4 separate regions of the Homo sapiens genome follow, and regions 1, 2 and 4 are each linked to region 3. The links are contacts of gene promoters, found by promoter capture Hi-C in human tissues and cell types (Jung and others, 2019). All regions are on one chromosome and are shown on one strand. Each heading gives the region's core, a stretch centred on a gene start or on the middle of the fragment in contact. The rest is flanking DNA. Distances are from core to core; before and after follow the strand shown. Region 1 holds the start of SCAF1 (SR-related CTD associated factor 1). Region 2 holds the start of TSKS (testis specific serine kinase substrate). Region 3 holds the start of LIN7B (lin-7 cell polarity scaffold B). Region 4 holds the start of KCNJ14 (potassium inwardly rectifying channel subfamily J member 14).

Region 1 (2,700 bases), core at 165-2,664, 530 kb after region 3:
CTGCATTCCTAATCCATGAGCCAGCTCGCCCAAGTAGGGATGCCTGGGTCATGAAGAGCCTGGGGCCAGGATTTCTGGGTCTTGAAGGAGAAGGAAGCAGAGGGCCCAGACTCCTGGGTCCTTAGGAGAAAATGGGGCTGGAGATGTGGACTCCTGGGTCCTGGGGAGGAGGGTGTCAGGGAGGAAGGTAGACAGGTTCCTTCGTACTAGGTTCGGTAAAGGAGGGAGCCGGGGGCCTGGACTCTTAGGTCCAGGAATTGGAGAGGCTGGGGACCCAGGATTCTGGATCCGAGCGAGGGCACTGGCTTGGGGGGACCCGAATTCGTATGTGAGAGCTTGAGACCAGGACTAGTCTGGGAGACCGACTCTTGGATCCGAGGAAGGAAGAATCAGACTCCTGAGTCGGAGGGAGGAGGGAAATAGGAGTCTGGACACTGCTCTGAGTGAGAGGATTCGGAATTCAGACTTCTCTGTACTGAACGAGGCGGCTATGGGGTCGGGCTTCTAGGTTCTAAGTTTATTTTTATTTGTTTATTTTTGAGACGGAGTTTCCGTCTTGTAGCCCATGCTGGAGTGCAATGGCGCGATCTTGGCCCACTGCAACCTCCGCTTCCCGGGTTCAAGCGATTCTCCTACCTCAGCCTCCCGAGTAGCTGGGATTACAGGCGTTAGCCACCACGCCAGGCTAATTTTTGTATTTTTAGTAGAGACTGGGTTTCACCATGTTGGTCAGGCTGGTCTTGAACTCCTGATATCAGATGATCCGCCTGCTTCGGCCTCCCAAAGTGCTGGGATTACAGACGTGAGCCACCGCGCCTGGCCTATTTTTATTTTTTTAGAGGCGGGGTCTCCCTATATTGCCTAGGCTGGCTTCTAACTTCTAGGCTCAAGCCATCCTTCCGCCTCAGTCTCCCGAGTGGGACTACGGTGTGCGCCACTGCATCCCGTCTGGTTCTAAATTTAGGGGGGCCTAGAGGATCTGGATTCTGAGAGCCCCAGAATGTGGGCAGCACAACATCCAGCAAGTCGTGCTCACTCCGCCGGACTACAATTCCCTTGCGTCTGTTCTGCCTGGCGCCTCTTACGTCACCTCCTGTTCCGCCACCCTTTCCGCGCGCGCGCAGGGCACTGTGGGGCGTCATCGCGGGCTACCGCGGCCCCGCCCACTTCACCTCTCACCCCATTAGCTGTCCCCGCGCGACAGAGGCGGTGCGCGGACTACGCCTCCCGGCGTGCATCGCGCGGACCCCGCCCCATGTGTCCCATTGGCTTCTGGGAAACCGAGTGCGGTTGCCTTCCCGCCGGCCTTCACGTCGCCGTGCTCGGTACTTGAAATCCCGGCAAGCTCGGCGGCGCTTTAGCTCCGCCTCTCTCCTCCTTTGCTCACGAACCCCGCCCCAGCCCGCCCCGCCCCGCGCCGGGGCCGGAGCCGCAGCCCGAGCGGCGGGGTAAGATGGCGGCGGCAGTCCGGGCCGCGGGGCTCGGGCCTATTGGGGTGGGCGGGGCGGAGTTGGGTCGCTAGTTGTCCCGGGGTCCTCCCCACAAGCCACGGGTCCTAGAGGGCTTCTCGGGGCGGTCTCGGGCCCGGCAGCTGCGGCGAAACCTGGCGCCGAGAGGGGGGCCTTCTCAGGGCCCCGGGACGCATCCGTGGGTTCCTGGGGGCGTCTATGGGGCGTCTCCGAGAGGACTTGGGGCGTCTCTGGGCCTAGACCGAGCCTAAGGCCTGCCCTCCATCACACAGCTGGCCTGGATCGTGTCTGTAGACACTGTAGATTGTCTTTTTGGGCTGACCGGAGGCTAGGGTCTGGTTAGAGGGTTCTGGGGCCATCTTGAGATCTTGAGATATGTCCCAGGGGTGAAGGAGGGTCTGCAAGACCTGAAGAGTATCTTCAGAGCCATCTAGAGGCCTGGGGTATGTCTTTTAGGGCTGGAAAGTGTCTGCATGGGCTGGCCTGAGGATGCAACTGGTCTGCATAAGTCTGGGGCCATTTATCAGGCCTAGAAGGAGTGTTCAAGGGCTAAGAAGTCATTTAGGGCCCCCTAGGGGGTTGGGTTATGCCCACCAGGGAAGGGCGCCAAATATTGAGATGTACTGAGGGTCTGGGGTCTCCAAGGTATGGGTAGTGTCTAATAATGGGTGACAGGAGGCTGGGGGCAGTTAGAAGGACCTGGAACCATCTAGATGGCTTTAATGTGACTGCAGGAATGCAGTTTTGATGCCTGGAGCAAATTCGAATGCCTTTGGGGTCAGAGCAGCTTGTGGCGAATAATAATACGGAAAGAGAATGAGGAAATTTTGCCCAGCTTAGATATACTTGCCCTTCAGACAGTAATTCAAATGAAAAATGTTTTAAGATTCTGCATTACCCTGGGGGTTATTGAGAGAGTTAGAATTAATCTACATTAGTCTGGAAGAGTCTGGAGGGTCATCTAGACCCACTATTACAGTGCTTTTCAAGGGGAAACCTGGGCCATGTTGACCGTGATCTGCATTAAGATACATTTTTTCATTGAGACCTGGTACAGACAGTCATAATGTATTTAACATTATATAACATAATGTATTAACATTAACTCACCTTCCACGAATTGACATTTCCACTTACTACTTGTGCTGTGCTGTGAAGAACTATTTTGTTCTATTTACTTTTTAAAACAAGCTATTTGTGAAGCACTAAACTGGTATATGACCCTGTTGTT
Region 2 (2,700 bases), core at 1-2,500, 650 kb after region 3:
GCAGGGGGCCCAGCCAGTGTGAGTTGGCCGCTGAGGTCTTCCACTGTGGAGTCTGTCCCCGTGGAGTCAGTGGGCTCCATGGCGGCCAGGTTGAGCAGTGACACGTTGGTGCAGGCCGAGGACCGTTTGAGGTTCAGGCACCAGTGCATGGGCTGATGGGACATCTGGGGCTCCACCCTGCAGAGAAGAAACAGGCAGAAAAGTGGAGAAGCAGCCCCAGGGTGTCTGGGCCCTCCTGCCTTCCTTTCTCCATACCTCACCCCCTGTGACTCCACCCTCACTGTATATAAGTTTCTCCCTTCTCTGTCCCCGCTGCCTACTTTATTCTCCTTCCCTGTGCTGCCTACTTTCTTTCTTTTTTCTTTCTTTCTTTTTTTTTTTTTTTTGAGACAGAGTCTCACTCTGTTGCCCAGGCTGGAGTGCAGTGGCGCGATCTCAGCTCACTGCAACCTCCGACTGCGGGTCCCAGTTCAAGCAATTCTCCTGCCTCAGCCTCCTGAGTAGCTGGGGTTATAGGCATGTGCCATCACGCCCAGCTAATTTTAGTATTTTTAGTAGAGATGGCTTTTCACCATGTTGGCCAAGCTGGTTTTGAACTCCTGACCTCATGATCCACCTGCCTCGGCCTCCCAAAGTGCTGGGATTACAGGCGTGAGCCACCGTGCCCGACCACCACTGTCTACTTTCTTCTTCTCCTTCCCCGCTGCCTACTTTCTCCTCCCTTCTCTGCCACCTACTTTCTTCTTCATTCACTAGCCTCCCTTCTCCTTCTTCCCTCCCCACTGGCTTTTTCCTCTCTCCATCCATCCCCATTACCTTCTTCCTCCCTCCATCCATCCCCATTACCTTCTTCCTCTCTACCTCCCTGTGACTTGATGTCTCTTCACTGCTGCCCTCTTTCCTGCCCCCGACCTGCTGGCTTTTCCCCCTCCCCTTCCTCTAGCACCCACAGTCGGACTCCTGCTCTGTTGGAGGTAGTGCTGGGCATTAGAACCATCCCTGACAGTGTGCAACAAACCCACCCGTGGAACGACACGGCCTTCTTTTTCTTCGGGATCCCCTTGGCCCGGCTGGTCACCCTCCGGGGAGCCTCTGGGACTAGCTGGGAGCAGCTCTCCACCCCCGTGGGGGTGTCCCCGGCCTCATGGATCTCTTTGGACTGCCAGATCGTCTTCACCACCACGCTCGCCATGGTGTGGGGGTCTGGCTCCCAGGGAGGGGCTCCTTCCTCTGAGACTTCCTACCTACTGTGACCACAGACCCTCAGGATCCACTGTCCCCTCAGCCTGCCTCACAAAGGACCCAACCACTGGGCCCCAGTGAGTGGGGGGCACAGGGTAGGGAGAGATGCTGGCCCAGGTCATTCCCCTAGGGTTCTCAGTGGACTCCTCCTGTTCAGGATTCTAGTTACATGCCCAATGTGCCCCCCGTCTTCAGAGCTCCAGTGGATGGATTCATGCTAGCCTGTAACTTAACAATGGGTCGGCCCACGGATTCTTGGGAGAGGTCCAACTTCCCTCTCCCTGAGACTAAGCGTGGGGTCACACAGCCCTGTGCACTTGTTCTTGATTCTTCATGTAGCTTCCTGGATTTGACAATTGGCTGGGGTTTGAGAGACTGTGGTCGAAGAGGGCTGAGATCCAGACCCTGACCTGGAGGGTCTCATATTCTATGGGGCGTCGGGGTCGGGGGAAAGGCAATATACAGGTAGATCAACAAAAGAAAGCTAGGTGCGGTGGGCCTCGGGGTCAGGGTAGAAGGTGAGGGAGGAGAGGAAGGTAGAGAGTTGGGGCAGGACAGAGGGTGGTATCCCCCTCCCCCGTTTATTTATTTATTATTTTCTTTAATACTTTTTATTTTTTTTGAGACAGAGTCTCTCTCTGTCATGGAGGCTGGAGTTCAGTGGCGCGATCTCAGCTCATTGCAACCTCCACCTCCCGGGGTTCAACCGATTCTCCTGCCTCAGCCTCCCCAGTAGCTGGGACTACAGGCGCTGGCCACAATGTCCGGCTAATTTTTGTATTTTTAGTAGAGACGGGTTTCACCATGTTGGCCAAGTTGGTCTCAAACTCCCGACCTCAAATGGTCCACCCGCCTTAGCCTCCCAAAGTGTGGGATTACAGACATGAGCCACCATGCTCCGCTATAATTTTTTTTTTTTTTTTTTAGATGGAGTCTCGCTCTGACACCCAGGCTGGAGTGCAGTGGCGTGATCTTGGCTCATTGCAACCTCTACCTCCCAGTTTCAAGCGATTCTCCTGCCTCAGCCTCCTGAGTAGCTGGGACTACAGGTACCTGCCACCACACCCATCTAATTTTTTTTTTGTATTTTTAGTAGAGACAGGGTTTCACTGTGTTGGCTAGGCTAGTCTCCAACTCCTGACCTCGTGATCTGCCCACTTCAGCCTCCCAAAGCATTGGAATTACAGGTGTGAGCCACTGCGCCCCGCCCGCCCAAAGTATTTAAAAAATATATGGAACATGTCACAAATTTGCATGTGGTCTTTGCGCAGGGCCCATGCTAATCTTCTCTGTATCGTTCCAATGTTAATACATGTGCTGTCGAAGCGAGCACTGCCCTGCTATTTAGGGACAGACTTTTCCTGTTCTCTTCACACTTCTCAAAAAGACTAGTTCAAACATCACTGCTAATAGACATTTTAAATGCTGTTATCCCCAGGGAGAAAGTACTTCTTCCTG
Region 3 (2,700 bases), core at 157-2,656:
GATCACTTGAGGTCAGGAGTTCGAGACCAGCCTGGCCATCATGGTGAAACCCCATCTCTATGAAAAATACAAAAATTTGGCAGGTGTGGAGGTGCACACCTGTACTCTCAGCTACTCAGGAGGCTGAGGCAGGAGAATTGCTTGCACCCGGGAGGCAGAGGTTGCAATGAGCCGAGATCACGCCACTGCACTCGAGACTGGGCAACAGAGGGAAGACTGTGTCTCAAAAACAAAATATCCAGTATCCCTCTTTCAGTGTAGACCATCTTAAAAATGGCACCAAAGCACCTTAATACTGTCTTCTCCTGCACCTCCCAATCCCCTTATATAGCCAAGCACCAAGGCTTGTCTAGACATTTCCCACATCTGCCCACCCATCTTCTGTGCTTTGGCCCTGGTGCTAGCTGCCACCTGGATGGCTGTGGTAGCCTCGTAAGTTGCCCCGCTGCTTCTCCTCTTGTTCTTGTCCAAACCAGTCTCCACAGTGGCTACAGTGATTTTTTTTTTTTCAATAGATACGAGGTCTCACTATATTGCCTATGCTGGTCTTGAACTCCTGGGCTCAAGTAGTCTTGCTGCAGCCTCCCAAAGCGCTAGGATTACAGGTGTGAGCCACCGTGCCCGGCCCCAGTGATCTTAAAATACAAATTTGAGGCCCAACCTGGGCGACAGAGCGAGGCTCCGTCTCAAAAATAATAATAATAATAATATAATAATAATACAAATTTGAGTGTCATATTTTTCTCTTAGGAGTTTGCATGAAGCCCCAAATCCTCAAGGCGCATATGCCAACGCAGGAGCCCAGGCATAAACTATCCTGCCGACCTTTTCACCTCATCATCAACCAATCCTAACTCTGCTTCCAGCCACGTGGGCTCTTTCTGGGTGGTGGGGGTGACCCAAGCTCCACCTCTTGTTCATCTTACCTCCCAGGACTGTATGTCAATGTCCCTCCTCTAGGATTTCCTTCGTTTTCTAGATCATCACCTCCCCACTCTCAGCTCTCATCACAGCCGTAGTTGGTCGTCTACCTCCCCTATAGACTGGAAGCTTCGTTCGGGCCGTGGGCTTGGCTGTCCTGCTCACCACGGTGTCCATGACTTGGGCTCAGATGTTTCACAAGAGTTTGTTGAATGAATGTGGGGAAAGGATGGACAGGGGATAGACGGGTGTGGAGGGCAGGCAGACACGGATCCTGAAAGGTACACACAGACCGAACCTGCAGTGGGAGGGGTCGCCAACAGGACCGACTGGCCGGGGCGGAGGGCAGGGCGCGGCTGGCGCGCGGCAGGTGGTCGGAGCAGTCGGGCGAGGGAGAGCTGGGCGCTCTCCAGGCTGCGCCTCCGCAGGGGGCGCCCGTGGCCCGGGGCGTGGCCTCGCGCAGCCCCGCCCTCCTCGCCGGCGCCAGGGCAGGCGGGCGGCTGGCAGCTGTGGCGCCGACATGGCTGCGCTGGTGGAGCCGCTGGGGCTGGAGCGGGGTAAGCGTGCGCCAGGGGGCCCTGCCCACCCGGGCCGCGGCCTACATACCCAGCCCCCGGTCCCCGCCCTTCCCGGGTCAGGCCAGTGCGGGTGGGCCAGCGGACCCGGAGGGGGTGGGCGGGGCGGGCGCCGGGGCCGGGCGGTCGCTAGGTGTGGGAGGCTCCCTGGGCGCGGGCCGGGACGCTGGGCGCCCGCCTTACAACCCGGCCTGTGGAGGGGTCCCGGGGCCGCAGGGCCGCTGGTGGCAGTCTCTCCTGCGCCACCCTGGACTCTGCGGGGTGTCCGACTAGGCTTCGGCCGTCCTCCCCGGACTGTGCGCTCGGCCTCACTCCGCCGCTCTCCTTGCTTCTCTGCGTCTCGGGGTCTCTGACACTCGGGGTTTCTGCGCCCCGCCCCCGCCCCGCAGACGTGTCCCGGGCGGTTGAGCTCCTCGAGCGGCTCCAGCGCAGCGGGGAGCTGCCGCCGCAGAAGCTGCAGGCCCTCCAGCGAGTTCTGCAGAGCCGCTTCTGCTCCGCTATCCGAGAGGTGAGGGGCGCGCGGCGCAGGGGCGCGAGCTGGTGGCCGTCGTCCTCCTCCTCCTCCTCCTGCTTGTCCCGAGCCCGGAGACTACGCCTCCCGGCAGCTCCCGAGGCGGCCCGCCTTGGGGTGCCAACGCTTCAGCTCAGGGGTTCTTCGGGAGTTGTAGTTTTCTCGGCCTTCTGTTGCGGGGGCGGGGCGGATCCTTGCGTGGTAGCGGGAGAGGGTCTAGAGGCCTGAACTCCTGCGTCTAGGGCTGGAGGAGCTGGCGACTCCCTGATGCCGCTGCCTCCTCACCCAGGTGTATGAGCAGCTTTATGACACGCTGGACATCACCGGCAGCGCCGAGATCCGAGCCCATGCCACAGCCAAGGTGGGCCCCGCACCCCATTGCTCCTGGTGTCTATTTAACTGCCTAGTCGAACTCAATATCTCCTTCATGCCAGTCATTTCTGTTTCCTCCCTCATGATTTTTGCTAAATCTATGTGCCACCTTACTATTAGTAAATAATCGCACATTTTTAACTTAAATGTCATACTAAGGCATCTTTAGCAACTGCAAATGGAAACAGTATGGCATGGTTGGTAGAAGATAACCTTCAACATCTGTACAGTGCAAACCAGGAAACTCATGGCGCTCTGACCTCTCACTGCACAATAGTTAGATGCTGCTACCTCTTGCTGCTGTCCGGAGGCTCAGATCTC
Region 4 (2,700 bases), core at 1-2,500, 660 kb before region 3:
TCCTGTCCAGCCTGCCTGGGCTGTGGCCCAGCCGCTCTGCCTGGCTGGCCTCCCTGGCTCCCCCTCTGCGGCTCTGAGCTAGCCCCACCCCCGGCCCCCCTCCATCCAGCCTCTGATCCATCTGTGGACTCCGAGGTCGGGTGCCCGTCACACGGCCCCTGGGACCAAGGACAGACTACAGCCCCTCAGCACCCACAGAGGCTTCCCCTCAGCCCTAGCCGAGGAGCCCCCAGCGGAGGGCATGGGGGTGGGCCGCCCCAACAGGTACGTGCCTCCATGCAAGGCACCGCTGAGCCATCCCCTCCTGCTCTGCTGCGTCGCCCCCATCCACCCCTGCCCCAGCATCCCTGTCCTCAGCTTGTCCCCTTCAAGAAGGCCTTGTCTTCCCATCAGTGACAGGCTCAGCGCCAGGAGAATCCACCCCCAGGTTCAGTGCCTCCAACTCTCACCCCATCCCCATTTTATGCATTTTCTCACTGGCTTCCATCCTTTCAGAGAAACCCTCTCAGTCTGTCTGTCTCTGTCTCTGTCTCTCTCCCCCATCTCTGTCTCTCCCATCTCTCTCTGCCTCTCTCTGTCTTCACAATTTCATCTCCCCATGTCGCCATTTCTTAAAACATTTCTTTTCTCCTTTTCGTTTTCCCAATTGCCCTGTCCGCCTCTATCTTCTCTGTCCCCCTCCATCTAGGTCTCTGTCCCCCCCTCTCTCTGGGTCTCTGTCCCCCTCTGTCTCTGAGTCTCTATCCTCTCAAGGTCTCTGTTCCCCTCTCTCTGGGTCTCTGTCCTCTCTCAAGGTCTCTGTCCCTTTCTCTCTGGATCAATGTCCCTTTCCTGCTGCCCTCTCTGGGTCTCTGTCCCCCTCTCTCTCAGGGTCCCTGTCCTGCTTGGTCCCTGTACTTTTTCTTGGGGCACCCTCTCAACACCCCTCCTCCTGCCTATCTCTGCATCTCTTTGTCTTTCTGTAGTCTCTGCTTTCCAACCTGCTGTCCAGCCCCCACCAGTAGGTGGGGAGTGGTGGGGAACACCCCTGGTTTCGGAAGAGTGAGAGTGTTGATTTGGGAGGGTGAGGGTGGGGCCTGGGGGCGGGGCTTCTTGGCCTCAGATTAGACAGTGACTTTGACACGAAGTTGAAGCACCTTAAGCCCTGTATCTCCTTTATATGGAAACATTAAGCTGCTCTCGCAGGTCAGGTGGAGGATCCCTTTCCCTCCCGCCCTGCTTTTGCTAGGGGAGGGGGGTGCCCTGAGCCTGAGTCGCAGCCAGCCTGGGAGCTGGGCCATGTTGGCCGCAGATGGCCCCCTGGTGAAGGTTCCCGTTGGCTTTGGGAAGTAGACAACGGGTCTGCCTCACGGGGCTGAGGTGGGACTGGAGGATTTCGAGGGCAGAACTCTGGGAAGGAAAGAAAGGCTTAGGACCCAACCAGCATTCCCCCTGGCACTGCGGGGGCCTGGCCAGCTCATGGCGTTCCCTGAGCCTGTTCCCCAACTGTGAAAGGGGGTGATGATCTTCACCTCCCGGCATCCTGAGCGGCCAAGGTGAGCAGTGGGGTCTGAGAGTCCAGTGGGGGCTGTGGGCATGTCGGGAGCTCATCACGAGGCCTCGTACATACCAGGTGTGTTTGAAACCAGAGTGCTCTTGAGAAGACTGTGGTTTGTCACTCGGGCCGTGGCTCCCAGGAGGCCTGGGTGGGAGGCTAGCTTTTGCCACTCCTCTCCCCACTGGCTGAGAGACCTGCGACAAGGGACTAACCTCAGCCCCAGTTGGCTTTTCTGTGAAAAGCCAGGTCCCTTCATCAAAGGGCTTTGGTGAGAGATGGGCAAGTGGGGGTGAGAGGCCCAGGCTGGGGCCTGGGGAGCACAGGTCAGTGTCAGTGCCCACCTGCCCCCCCAGCCCACGGGGGTGGTTCCTGAGGGTGGAGTCAGTGCTGAGTGGGGATCCCCAGGCTGGGGAGGGCTGCAGGTGTAGATGCTGCATCCTGATGTTGACCTCCAGGCCGCCCCCTTGGGCAACGAGCCTATTTCCCCTTTTTGGGAGAACAGTCTCTAACATGCAGGGTTGTCAGGGGTGAGATAGAGTCAAGGTTGGGGTACACTGTGGGCACTGGACACAGCCAGGCTGGTCCCCTCACCTCAGCCTTGCCTCTGTCAAGTGGGCCTAATGAACCCTCGCGAATGGCCAGGCTGCCTGCGTGGTTGTGGGAAGCAGGTGCAGGGCTTTGGGAGACCCAGTTGGTGCCAAACTTGACATTGTCTCATGGTCTTCTTTCCAAATGGAGTGTGCCAGGCCCTGCCAAGAAGCCCCTGAGGATCCCCAGGTTCCAGCACAAATTATTTAACCCCTGGAATGGTTTGTCCTGATCCAGCCAGTTCCTGGGAAGTTCCCCACCACAGGGCCAAGCGTTTGGTAACGTTGCAGTGAACCCTGAAGGCAATGAGGGGTGCGGGTCCATGCCCAGCCCTTTCCTTTGGTCCACCCTGACAGGCTGCTGCGATTCCCTCCATTTCTTTTCTTCCTTTATTTTTTATTTTTAATTATTTATTTATTTTTTAGAGACAGGGTTTTGCTGTCTTCCCCAGGCTGGTTCTCAAACCCCTGGCCTCACGCATTCCTCCTGAGTTGGACTCCCAAAGTGCTAGGATTACAGGTGTGAGCCACCGCACCTGCCCTCTTTTTTTTTTTTTTTTCTTTAAGAGATAGGGT

Evidence for each region. The method cuts DNA at HindIII sites, captures the fragments that hold promoters and counts their contacts. A contact is called where the count stands out against the background at its distance.
Region 1: the fragment with the promoter of SCAF1 here is called in contact with the fragment with the promoter of LIN7B in region 3 in 1 of the 25 tissues and cell types used here (dorsolateral prefrontal cortex).
Region 2: the fragment with the promoter of TSKS here is called in contact with the fragment with the promoter of LIN7B in region 3 in 1 of the 25 tissues and cell types used here (liver).
Region 4: a contact is called between the fragment with the promoter of KCNJ14 here and the fragment with the promoter of LIN7B in region 3, in 1 of the 25 tissues and cell types used here (stomach).

What each region holds. Positions count from the first base shown.
Region 1 is chr19:49,640,795-49,643,494 of GRCh38, forward strand. It overlaps SCAF1 (SR-related CTD associated factor 1), which reads left to right and starts at 1,415. Exons shown (of 11, transcript NM_021228.3): 1 at 1,415-1,448. RefSeq lists enhancers at 1-535, 536-1,205, 746-845, 956-1,305 and a silencer at 1,336-1,625. The HindIII fragment of the contact is 1,761 bases long and covers 1,361-2,700 here.
Region 2 is chr19:49,762,056-49,764,755 of GRCh38, forward strand. It overlaps TSKS (testis specific serine kinase substrate), which reads right to left and starts at 1,251. Exons shown (of 11, transcript NM_021733.2): 1 at 1,023-1,251; 2 at 1-177. The coding sequence starts at 1,192. It also overlaps the pseudogene RNU6-841P. RefSeq lists an enhancer at 1-4. The HindIII fragment of the contact is 39,317 bases long and covers 1-2,700 here.
Region 3 is chr19:49,112,964-49,115,663 of GRCh38, forward strand. It overlaps LIN7B (lin-7 cell polarity scaffold B), which reads left to right and starts at 1,407. Exons shown (of 6, transcript NM_022165.3): 1 at 1,407-1,478; 2 at 1,886-2,004; 3 at 2,297-2,368. The coding sequence starts at 1,442. RefSeq lists a silencer at 1,227-1,806. The HindIII fragment of the contact is 18,984 bases long and covers 1-2,700 here.
Region 4 is chr19:48,454,324-48,457,023 of GRCh38, forward strand. It overlaps KCNJ14 (potassium inwardly rectifying channel subfamily J member 14), which reads left to right and starts at 1,251. Exons shown (of 3, transcript NM_013348.4): 1 at 1,251-1,535. GRWD1 (glutamate rich WD repeat containing 1) reads left to right here. Exons shown (of 7, transcript NM_031485.4): 7 at 1-2,699. The HindIII fragment of the contact is 6,064 bases long and covers 1,014-2,700 here.